Linked DNA regions of Homo sapiens: all the other regions are linked to region 3. The links are contacts of gene promoters, found by promoter capture Hi-C in blood cells and fetal thymus (Javierre and others, 2016). All regions are on one chromosome and are shown on one strand. Each heading gives the region's core, a stretch centred on a gene start or on the middle of the fragment in contact. The rest is flanking DNA. Distances are from core to core; before and after follow the strand shown.

Region 1 (2,954 bases), core at 132-2,631, 190 kb after region 3:
ACTTTCTTGCTGAAAGGCAATTGGGCCATAGTTACCAAAAGTCTTAAATGTGGCTACTGTGGGCACACTGCCTATGAGGTAGCCCTGCTACGCAAGGAACAGTTTAAAAAAAAAAGTCTTAAATGTAATAGATACTTGTATTTGAATGTTTACAGTAGGATTATTCACAATATCCAAAAGGTGGAAACAACCCGTGTCTATTAAAAGATGCATAGAAAACCATAATGTGGTATCTACATACAACTGAATGTTACTCAGCCATTAAATGTAATGAAAATCTAATACATGGTACAACATGGATGAACCTTGAAAACTTTGTGTTAAGTGCAGTAAGCCTGACATAAAGGGACAAATTTTGTATGAGCTCACATAAATGAAATATCTTGAATAGGCAGATTAATAGGTAAAGAAATATATGAAAGGTTACTGGGGGTTGGGTGGGAGAAAGAAGTTGGGGGAGGTTACTTAAAGGGTAGTTTCTCCTTGGTGGTGATAAAAGTGTTTTGAAAATAGTAACAATGGTTGCACAACATTGTGAGTATAATTAATGATACTGAGTTGTACATTTTAAAACGGTTAAGATGACAAATCTTACGTTTTATATATTTTACCACAGTAAAAGAGAAAAATGACAAAAAATAATGTCACGTTTCACTTACAGGAATTTGTTCTAAGGAATAATAGAGTGTATGTAAGGTCTTTACTACAGAGTTGGAAACAACCCAGATGTTTAATAGTAATGAATTGTTTGCTGTGGTATAGTCTATAACCATTGACAGTGACTGAACAAATATTTAATAGAATATTATGATTTAACAAGTGAAAATATAGGTAGTAAAACAGCATGCACCCATTTTTCATTTAAAAAAATTTATGCCTAAAAAAGACAATGTTCTATTAAAAATTGAAGTGGTCTTCTTTGGGTGATAGGATTACAGAGGTTTATCAAATGCTTGTTTATACCCTGAAAATGTAAAACTTAGGTTCTGGTTCTTTTTTATTTTTATTCTTTTAAGGTAAAAGGAGATTTTTGTCTTTAAATATTAATAAAGGGGTCACAAACAGTATATTAATTTTTTAAAAGGAAAAAACTTTTTATAATTGATTATACCGCTTGCGAGAGTTTGAGATACTCTTAAGAATTCAGGTTAAACTTACAAAATCATTTTTAATACAGAGATCAATGAAAAATTATCCAAAGACATTAGCTCCATGTACTGGTAATTGTTACCAAAAGCCTTAAAGTGTACAATTTTTTAAAATCAGTGTGGCAACTATCCCAGGAATTGGAAGTCTGTGTTTCTTCCCCTAAGATTCAGGTCATGTGTGTATATGTGTGTATTTTAATTTTTAAAGAACATAGGAGTAATGTAGACTCCTACTTCTAGCCATGACAGAGTCCCAGGGACTGAATTTACACTCCTGCTTCAAACTAGAAAAGCAGTCTACAAAATAAAATAATTGTTTATAGACATTGGATAATAACCAGTATAGGACACTAATCTTAGAAGGGAAATAAAGTGACTTCTGTAGCTCTTCCCACCTTATTGCCTAGAGACAGTTTTGGTACAGGGAAGGCAGACATACTGAGATCTTGGGCAGGTGGCATCACACTACATTGAAGAGATAGATTTTGAAGTACAAGGAGGCCAAGGTGTCTAGAATTTGTGGATAAAATTACTAGAGAGTAGTGAGATGCATCAGGACAGAAGTGATGAGATCCACAAATCTCCACAAAACTCAATGAACCTCTTGAGAGTCTGAGCGAATACTCATCTGTGCATGTGTGACAAGAAATTACCCAAGGCTGAAGAAAGAATAACTGGAAAGGAGCAGGTGTAGCGATCCGTGGAGCTCATGCGAAACATTTACACCTATACATTTCTCTCTTAGCAGGGCTTTCACTGCATTCCATGTTTTGGCAGTAAAGCTGAAGAACATTTAAGCCAGACCAATCAGGAATTCAGAGAAAGAATAATTCATTTTATCCCTGGATTATTATTGAATTATTTTATTCCTATTGTGAATAATTCTATAAACATTCAAGTACAGAATTGAAGACCAATCAGGAATAAAATGAAAGAAGACATAAATTACCATCATTAGTAATGCAAGGAGGAACATCACACAGATCCTAAATTTTATGGAAAATCAATAAATTCAATAACTTAGATGAAATGGACAAATTCCTTGAAAGTTAAAATTAAGAAGAAATAGATAACCTAAATGGTCTTATTAAAGAAGGTGAATTGTTAGATTAAAATCTTCCAGTAGAGAAACATCCAAGTCCAGATAGCATTAGTAGTATATTATATCACACTTTAAAGAAGGAATAATACCAATTCTTTACAAACTCTTCCAGAATATATAAGGTAACACTTCCAAACTAATTTTATAAGATTTGTATTACTATTACACAAAACCCAGGCAAGATACTACCAGAAAGCTACAGATCTAGATCCTTCATGAATATAGACACAAAAAATTATTAACAAAATATTAGGAAATGAATTATGTAATATATTAAAAGATTAATATGTCATGATCAAGTGAAGTTCATTCTAGGAAGAAAGGTTGGTTTAACGTGAAAATTAAGCAACATTATTTACTGTATTAACAGACTAACAGGAAAAAAATGTTTTCCTCAATAGATGCAGATAAAGCATTTTACAAAGTTTATCACCTGTTCATGATAGATTAAAACAATAAACAAAAGTCTTGCAAACTAGGAGTACAAGGGGCACTTTCTTAATCCAATTCAAGGACCTTTTAAAAAACCTGCAACTAGTGACTGAATGCTCTCACTTTAAAACTGGGAAGAAGACAAGACAGTCCCTTCTCAGATACATTTCTACATTGTACTGGAAGTCAATTGTCTGGAAGTCATTGTACTGCCAGTGCAATAAGGCAATAAAAAGAAGCTGAAGGCAGACGAAATGGAAAGAAAAATATTA
Region 2 (2,833 bases), core at 205-2,704, 210 kb after region 3:
TTTAAAATAGCCCAATTAATTACATAAATGGAAGTTAATTTATTTTATAAAACAGTTTATTTTAAAATAGCTTATCCATATGAGTTATTTAAAAGGGAACTAACTCTTAATGTTTTTAAATATGATTTGATTTATAATAAACTTCCTGGAAGTGAGGGAGGCCTTTAATCTTCATGTATTAAGAGAGGGTGAATAATAATGAATTATTTTTGCCAAGACAGTTTTTTCCTGTTAAAACCCAAGTAATCCTGCCATTTTCACATTTTTCCTTTTGTTCTAAAAAGAAGTGGTAAATGTTTTGCACTGTTTGTTGGCTATGGCTGTGTCATGAGGGTTCTACCATGATTGATCAGTGAGGGCCACTGTGTATTTTTCATATATATTCACTGTGGAATAGAATCCAGTGTTGAATTTTTTTTTAAGTCAGTAGTGAAGAATGGTGGAGAGCATTTGTTCCATTGAATAATTTATAATAGCTAATTTCCCCATAAGAAGCCTACCAAAACATGATAGATATATCTCACTTGGAAGAAAAGTTGTCTGTAAAGTGAATCAAATCCTATTTTAATATATCATATGAGTATATAAACCCCTTTTTCTCACTGATTTTATGGGATCAAAGTGGAAATTATTCTTGTAGAAAATGACTTGGTTTTTAAGACAAATCAAATTTTTAGAAAAGACTGATTTTCAAATACAGTAATATGTATGTCAGATTCTGAGTGCAAAGTAGATAAATATTTTAGATAGATAAAATTTTATATTTGGCATAAATTGAGTAACTTTAAAGATAAACTTTATTTTTTATTTTTATGTTTTGAACACAGTTATAGTCAGTAGTTTCAGATTTTCATCCTCTCCTTGAAATGTTTCAATAGAAAGGATATGTAACTCTTCTTTAATGTTCAATATTCTAGTACTTTAAAGAAGAAGCTATTTTTAAAAATTAAAAGACTGAAATAAAAGAAAGGAATTTCCATTTAAACAGTTGAAATTGTGATTTTAAAATATACTAGCAAATTATTAGATAAGCAAATAATTTCTTAGAAGCCATATAACAGTAAACTAAATTCAATCCAACAAACTATTGTTGAGCACCTACCTGTGCAGAGTGGACAATGTTAAGCAGTAGAAATGTGTTATTGCCTAAGAGTAACTAGTTCGTAGCCTAAGAGAGAGTCAGACACATAAATGGATACTTACAATACAAAGTGTAAGTACCTTGATAGATGAAAATATAGGACATCATGGGGACGTCTAGGACTCTGAATTCACTTTTGGGAAATCAGGTAAGACTTCTTTACTCCAAGACTTCTTTCCTCCAGAAGTCTTATCTGATTTCCCAAAACTGAATTAGGACCTGAAGAATAATTAAAATAAGCTAAACAGAGGAAGGCCTGGAAGAGAGAGAGTGTTGTTGCAGGTTCAGAGAATAGCAGGTATATAGCCCTATTGCTATTGCTTAAGAGATTTATGTATAATTTGGTGTGGCTGGACCATAGGTTTTAAAGGTAATGGAGAATAGTGAGACATTAGTCTGGATTGGTAAAGTGAGACCAGATTATGAAGGGATTTATAAGAACGATCAGAAAAATCAAGAATATCTCAAAGATATTTTTAGTAAGATAGTGACAGGATCATATTTACAATTTACAAGTCAGTTTGGCAGAAGGCAAAGAATAGCAGGGGTTGGGCAGATGATGGCAAGATCAAACTTAAAGAGACTGATTCCTTTCTAAAATAGATGAGAGGTCATGGTACTGTTCTTCTGGATAGTGAATACTAGAGGAGAATCAAGTTTGAAAGTGGACAAATAATAGTTTGTTTTTAACATTTGATTTGAGGTGCTTGTGGATGATCTAATTTGAGGTGTCCAGAAAGGAACTGGATATATGAATATAGAGCCAAGCTCAAGAGAGAATGAAGCTAGATATATAGATTAGGAAGGTAATCAGCATGAGAATGTTAACTGAACCCACAGGAGTCCACAAGGGTCTTCAGGGCTCTCCATCTTTAGCATCAGCGTATGATAATGATTTTGTTACCTAATTCATTATGTTTCAAATGTGAATGCATTGTGAAATATTTAATGTACTATACCAGTATAGGATATTATAAACTATAATGAAGAGTGCATTTACTAAACACATTGCTATAAAACTGGTGTAGTAAACTCTGGGCCAGTGTGGACCATCATTTGGGGCAGGAAAAAGAATCATGTATTTTTTCCCCTTTTCTAAATTGACATATTAAAAGTTGTACGTATTTAACATGTACAACATGATGTTTTGAAATATGTGCAGTTGGCTCTCGGTATCTACAGATTCAACTAACCATGGGTGGAAAATATATTTGCAAGTCAACTTTTTGTATCGATGGGTTCTACAGGACTGATTGCAGGAGCATCCATAGATTTTGGTAGCTGAGGCATCTTGGAACCTTGGAACCTCTGGATACTGTGGGACGACTGTATATATTGTGAAATGGCTAAATTGAGATGATTACCATATGTATTACCTCACATACCTGTTTTTTGTGATGAGAACACTTAAAACCTACTCTCTTAGCAATTTTTAAGAATACAGTGTATCGTTAACTGTACTCACCATGTTGTACAACAGATATCTTTAACTTATTCTTCCTATCTAACTGAAATTTTGTTATCTTTGACAGATACCTCCCCAACCCCCTCTCCACCAAACTCCTGGTAACCACCATTTTATTCTCTACTTCTGTGAGTTCAAATTTTTTAGATAACGTATATAAGTGGACATAAATGTACTTTGTGGATTTTTATATTCTGTCACTTAGCCTTTCACACCTCACTTCACAG
Region 3 (3,099 bases), core at 590-3,089:
AGGGAGAAGGGCCTTCTGAGAATTGAGGATGGAGAAGAGGAGTTTCCAGGTAACTTTTCCTGAGCCCTCATCCTGGGAGCACTCTTCTGCCTCAGATCTCTGCCCTCACTTCTCTCCAGCCACAATTTTGGAAACACAGTTATGCCCCAGAAGTTGTCCTGGGCTTGGGGTCTAAGTTTATCCTTTTTGCTCTTAGGCTTGTATTTGAGGCTGGAGGAGAGATGGGGGTTCTCAGAGGGCACAGAGATGGGGGAAGGGGGCTTCTTGCCAGGGCCAAGAGAGTGTTTGTGTGGGAGTTACACAGTGGCCTAGTGAGTGAAAGAGGCCCCCCATACCTGATTCATGCCTCAGGGCAGATGGAGGCCTACTGTCCCTGCTATCTCCTCTCAGACATAAACACATCCTGCTACCTACTTCTCAGGCCTGTGGGAGGCACATGGGGACCTAAGCCAGGGAGGCCTGTGCGCATACAGGCCCTAGAGCTGAATGCCCAGACTATGCACATGCATCCACCCACTGTGCTCTCCTCCACTGGTGCGGCACCCACAGGATAAAACCTGAGGACACAGTGTGTGTGTGTCTGTGTGTACACACAAATACACACGCCAGTGTCAGAGGCTTGTCTAGGTGAAAGTGAATGTAGGCTGGGGGTCCCTAGAAATGTCACAACTAACCCTACAGGTGTCCGCTGTCATCTGCAAGGTTGTGCCTGCCACAGGAGACCTGTTTGTACAAATGGTAGCCTGAACAGTGCTCACTGCACACCAAGAGGCTGCATGCCCTGAATTCACACCTTCATTCCTGGTCCTATCTCCCAATAGAATGGACACTGGGCCTTACAATGCACATGCTAAACACCACGGATCTCCATAGGCCCCAGACCCACGTCTAGGAGTTTGCCTAGAGACACAATGTGAACATTGGCGTGTATGCATCGGACAGCCGTTGACATCCAAAAATGGAAAGGTCAGTGTAGCCACTTCTTTCTCACATCCAAAAATCACTTGGGATATAACAGGTGAATGCAGACCCTTTAAATAGTGGATGTACACTCAGATATTTCCGAATTACATAAATAACACTCATAGTAGACACACATTTTGGATACCCAAAAGAATATACACAAGTACTAACTTATAAACACACACGAATACCCCACGAGTATAAAGATACACACACACACACACACACACACACACAGGCAAACAACTTTTGGACACAAACTCATATATTTTTACATCTTTTAAAAATACATATACTGTAATGAACACACTGAGTCCCTTATATAAACACACAGGCCCTAACTTGCAGACCCCCGGAAGGACGCCAGCGTGAACATTCAGAAACAGAGAAAAACACAGACAAACTCACAGATATTTGGACTGATGCAGAAGTGTGTGAACAGATAGGTGAAAAAACATAACAAACACGCCGCAGTTAGACAGTCTCTACGAAAATGCGGCGCGCCCCCTCCTCCTCCAGGGTCACCCTGCGTGGGGACCAAGGCCTGGCCGTGTCCCGGAGTTTGCACATCTGGAGCCCGTATCGCGGTCCTACCTGTCCTGCTGGTCCGAGGAGTCGGATAATTTTTCTCTAAATCCATTTTGATTTTTCAGGACTTGATGGAATGGACAGGGAAAAGTTTCCACTTTTTTGTGCCTTTTTTTTTCTTTTTTTTTTTTTTTTTTTTTTTTTTTTGGTGCCAGGGGCCGCTCACAGGTCGGAATAATTCAAGCCTTCCGCTCCCCCGCCGAGCTGGGGTAGCTGATCACTGAGCTGAAACTAAACGTTTTAGGTGGAAAAAAAGCGTCCGAAGGCACCGTGAAATGATTAAGGAACTAAAGAGCTTCTCGCCATGTGAGATCATGTCCTGTTCTCGCCAACATCACAAGATGTCCCCAGACACGCCGCGCCCCCAGCGCGCCGCCCCACACTGCCGGCCCGGAGCGAGGAAAGGGTAGGCGCTGCGCGGCCGGGCCTGCTCAGCGCGCCAGACGTGGCGGACCCGGCCCGGCCGGAGTAGAGCGGGAAGCCGGGAGAGCAGCAGTGCTGCTGCCGCGCCGCCCCAGACTTTTATAGGGGTTGGGGGGAGGGAAGGAAGGCTTCAGCCTGCGCCGGGCGCTAGCCAGCGCACCTACGGGAAGGGGCAGACCGAAGCGGAGCCCGGGAGCCCGGGTCTTCCAGCCGCACCTTCTATTAAGACATGCGCTTGGGGGTCGCGGCCCTCTGCGCTGTGCGCGGGGCCTGTGACATCTCCATGTGCAAACCCCGCTGCTTAGACGAGCGCAGGCCGGGTTTTTGTTTTTGAAGAAATTAACTGCTCGGCCAAGCAGGTGCTTTTGAAAGGGGTTGCAAAGGCTGGCAGTGTTGCCAGGCACCGAGGCGACGTTCCGGTTTACTCCGATTCACCCCTAGGGCGGCGCCCGACCCCAGGGTTCCCAGCCATCCAACCCCCACCCCAATTTGTTGGGGTCCTGACTATTGCTGGGCCCCTGACCCTAGGGCAGCGCCAGATCCCTAAAGCCCCCAGGTCCCATCCAGTCTTCTAGTCCCAGAACCCCTCCCCACATCAAGTTCCATTCTGGCCCAGAGCATGGAGGTTAAGCTGTGAAATACTGGAGATGAAATCCGGGCTTCCGCTTTGGAGCACCCGGGCAGAGCAGAACATCTCAGTAGTTTCTGGAGATTGGCGGGAGTTCCAGACACCTTACCCCGGCCCATAAGTGGAATCGCATTGCCCTCGAGCCCTGAGACGTTGTGGAGTCCCAGAGCCCCAGGACTTGATTCCAGAGAGGAAATCAGATCCACAGAGACCGAGCAGAGGTGTGGCATGTCCAGCCCTCTCTCTTCGGGCCAGACTCAAGCCTCCCCTCCCTGTTCCCCTCCCCAGCCTTGAGTTAGTTCAGCTGCTGGGCCTAGCCACTGAAAGCCTGTGGGGCCCTGCAGCGGGGTGGTCGCAGGGGAAAGGTTCTCCAGGGCGGGGGAGCGCTCCGTAGGAGGACTCCTGGCCCGCCGGACAATGGCAGTTTTGGAGAGTGAATCGTCCTCAGCAAGAGTGTTGTTTGTTTTTTGGAGGGGGTGGTCACGAGGCTGGGTCGC
Region 4 (2,985 bases), core at 16-2,515, 230 kb after region 3:
ACTCAGAGGAGCTCATAGTACAACTGTAAATTTATTTGTTTTTTTAAATTTAGGGATGTGTAAAGAGCTATAAAGTTCTTGACAGGATTTGATAAATCATCAGGGAAAGTAGTTAATGCTTTAGGGTAAAACATTTTAAAATACAGCTTTAAAAATATATAAAAATAGAGCTTTACACTCCTGTTATTAATTTTTAATTGTCTCTTTATGATGCTAAGCATGTTGGCACTAGACTCAGTTTTAAAAATGTCTACCAGCTTGGCATGGTGGCTCATGCTTGTAATCCCAGTACTTTGGGAGGCTGAGGTGGGAGGATCACCTGAGCCCAGGAGTTTGAGACCAGCCTAGGCAATATAGCAAGACTCCATCTCTACAAAAAACAGAAAAATTAACCAGGTATAGTGGTACACACCTGTAATCTTAGCTACTTGGGGGGCTAAGGTTGGAGGATAGCTTGAGCCGGGATGATCAAGGCTGTAGTGAGCAATGATTGCATCACTGCACTCCAGCCTGGGCAATGGAGCAAGACTCTGTCTCAAAAAACAAAGTCTAACAGTGATGTATATGTTATACCAGTGTTATTTGGAAGATAACTTGAGACTTTTCCCATGCATACTGAATTTTTGGGAAATAAATTTAAGTTTTTCTGTATAAATGGTCAAAAAAATGTTATATTGAGAGAGAGAGAGGTATACTATCCGGAATACAGTCTGTGGGATATGCCTGTACAATTAATTTATCCATTCAGGCCCAGTTTCAAAGGCTTTGGAAGATGGGTTGCAAAGTTTATTAATCCTCATCATTTCTTGGCTAAGATAATTAGTATAATATAAAAAGTCTTTGATTCTCTATTCTGATGACCTGTTTTGATCCTTAGAGACAGAACTAAGGATTAAGGTGAGATGAATCTTCTTAGTTTACTAGCCAAAACAGTATACTCAGCCCTAGAACAGAATTCTCTGTCGCTTGTATTTAGCATTCCCTCTTGCTGAAAGTGTTCTTCTCTTTTTATATTTATGATTTCTATTAATGAAATTGCATCTCTGTCTCCCATTTGGTGGTGGGGGGGAGACAGGGGAGAAGAACAGGGCCTTGCTCTGTCTCTTAGCCTGGAATGAAGTGGCATGATCACAGCTCACTTCAGCCTCGACCTCGACCTCCCAAGCTCAAGTGATCCTCCCACCTCAGCCTCCTGGGTAGCTGGGACTACCATGCACGGCTAATTTTTTCTTTTTTTTTTTTTTTTTTTTTGAGACAGAGTCTCGCTCTGTCACCCAGGCTGGAGTGCCGTGGCATGATCTCGGCTCACTGCAAGCTCCGCCTCCCAGCTTCACGCCAGTCTCCTGCCTCAGCCTCCCGAGTAGCTGGGACTACAGGTGCCTGCCACCACGCCTGGCTAATTTTTTGTATTTTTAGTAGAGATGGGGTTTCACCGTGTTAGCCAGGATGGTCTCGATCTCCTGACCTTGTGATCCACCCGCCTCGGCCTCCCAGAGTGCTGAGATTACAGGCGTGAGCCACCGCGCCCGGCCTAATTTTTTCATTTTTTATAGAGACAGGGTCGCACCATGTTGCCCAGCCTGGTCTTGAACTCCTGGGCTCGAGGGATCCTCTCACCTTGACCTGAGATTACAGGTGTGAGCCATTGGGCCCAGCCTGCATTTTCTTGAAGTTGAAGATTTCCTCTGTGATCACATCAACCCAAGATTCTCTTTCTCTAAGCCCTATTAGCATTTCTTATAATGCCATTCAAGTACCATCACTAACTTGATTGGAAGTTCCTCAGAGCAGGGACTGTGTTTCAGATTTTTTGTTCCCCACAGTGCTTAACACAGAGCCTAATACAAAACAAATTCTGTGTGAATTTTTTGTGAAAGCTCTTGGTATCTCTAATGTGCTCTCAAAACCAACTACTATTATAAGATAATTAGATTTTACTCACTACCAGATTTCTCTACCTGGCCAATAAGGTTTGCAGAAGTTCCAGACCTATCAGGTGTTTATTTGCAAAGAAACAAAGTAGTAAACTTCAAAAGTCATGAATGTACTCTTGAGCCCTGTCCTCACAGAAAAAAAAAAAAATAAGCAAAATTTCTATTTTTTTTTTTGAGACAGAGTCTCGCTCTGTTGCCCAGGCTGGAGTGCAGTGGCGCGATCTGGGCTCACTTCAAGCTCCACATCCCAAGTTCACACCATTCTCCTGCCTCAGCCTCCCAAGTAGCTGGGACTACAGGCGCCCGCCACCATGCCCAGCTAATTTTTTGTATTTTTAGTAGAGACGGGGTTTCACCGTGTTAGCCAGGATGGTCTCGATCTCCTGAACTTGTGATCCGCCCACCTCGGCCTCCCAAAGTGCTGGGATTACAGGCGTGAGCCACCGCGCCCGGCCGCAAAATTTCTACTCTTTCCGAGGGGCTAATGCTGTTCTCAGCTGTGAAACTTTATTGTTGTCAATTCTGGCATTTAATTCTGAATAGGGTGCCATCACCTTCACTACTCTATTCATGTGGTCTTTCAACAAATGTATTGAATACTACTGTATGCTATGTTAGGGATAAGAAGTGACCCAGACTGCTATAAGGGAAAGATAAAACAGTAGTATGAGAGTGTATAATATTCTAACGTAGTATGGAGGCCAAGGAAGGCTTTTATGGTGACGTTTAAGCTGAAATCCAAAAGAATTAACTAGTCGAAATGGTGAGGCAAAGAGTGTTTTGATCCAAGGAAATAACATGTGCACCCTATCTACTAGAAGGGATGAATTATTTGCTTGCTGTCCTGAAGGTAGGCCATTGTGGCTTGAAAGAGTGTGAGAGAGAGCATGTAGGGCAAGATGAGGCTGGAAGAGTAAGTAAAGATCAGAAATTTCAGGCATTGTAGGCCATGTTAAGGTTTTGAACGTTATTTTTAGAGCAGTTGCTAATGAAGTATATGAAGCAGGGGTTATAGGAGCAGATTTCCATTGTTAAAAGATAGCTATGCTTC

Evidence for each region. The method cuts DNA at HindIII sites, captures the fragments that hold promoters and counts their contacts. A CHiCAGO score of 5 or more calls a contact.
Region 1: a contact is called between a fragment that was not itself captured here and the fragment with the promoter of PAX5 in region 3, in 2 of 17 cell types (total B cells and naive B cells). The highest score is 10.4, in total B cells.
Region 2: a fragment that was not itself captured here is called in contact with the fragment with the promoter of PAX5 in region 3 in 3 of 17 cell types (naive B cells, total B cells and megakaryocytes); the score reaches 11.1 in naive B cells.
Region 4: a contact is called between a fragment that was not itself captured here and the fragment with the promoter of PAX5 in region 3, in 5 of 17 cell types (naive B cells, total B cells, endothelial precursors and 2 more). The highest score is 17.3, in naive B cells.

The regions. Positions count from the first base shown.
Region 1 is chr9:37,223,050-37,226,003 of GRCh38, forward strand. The region is part of intron 2 of ZCCHC7 (zinc finger CCHC-type containing 7); the gene reads left to right. Among named protein-coding and RNA genes, the nearest start is that of ZCCHC7, 100 kb to the left of the region's middle. The HindIII fragment of the contact is 4,326 bases long and covers 1-2,954 here.
Region 2 is chr9:37,244,397-37,247,229 of GRCh38, forward strand. All of the region lies in intron 2 of ZCCHC7 (zinc finger CCHC-type containing 7), which reads left to right. Among named protein-coding and RNA genes, the nearest start is that of ZCCHC7, 130 kb to the left of the region's middle. The HindIII fragment of the contact is 6,079 bases long and covers 1-2,833 here.
Region 3 is chr9:37,032,429-37,035,527 of GRCh38, forward strand. It overlaps PAX5 (paired box 5), which reads right to left and starts at 1,840. Exons shown (of 10, transcript NM_016734.3): 1 at 1,558-1,840. The coding sequence starts at 1,603. RefSeq lists silencers at 1,606-1,726, 1,993-2,172, a promoter at 1,986-2,424 and an enhancer at 2,503-2,552. The HindIII fragment of the contact is 10,408 bases long and covers 1-3,099 here.
Region 4 is chr9:37,266,337-37,269,321 of GRCh38, forward strand. All of the region lies in intron 2 of ZCCHC7 (zinc finger CCHC-type containing 7), which reads left to right. Among named protein-coding and RNA genes, the nearest start is that of LINC01627, 130 kb to the right of the region's middle. The HindIII fragment of the contact is 5,335 bases long and covers 1-2,985 here.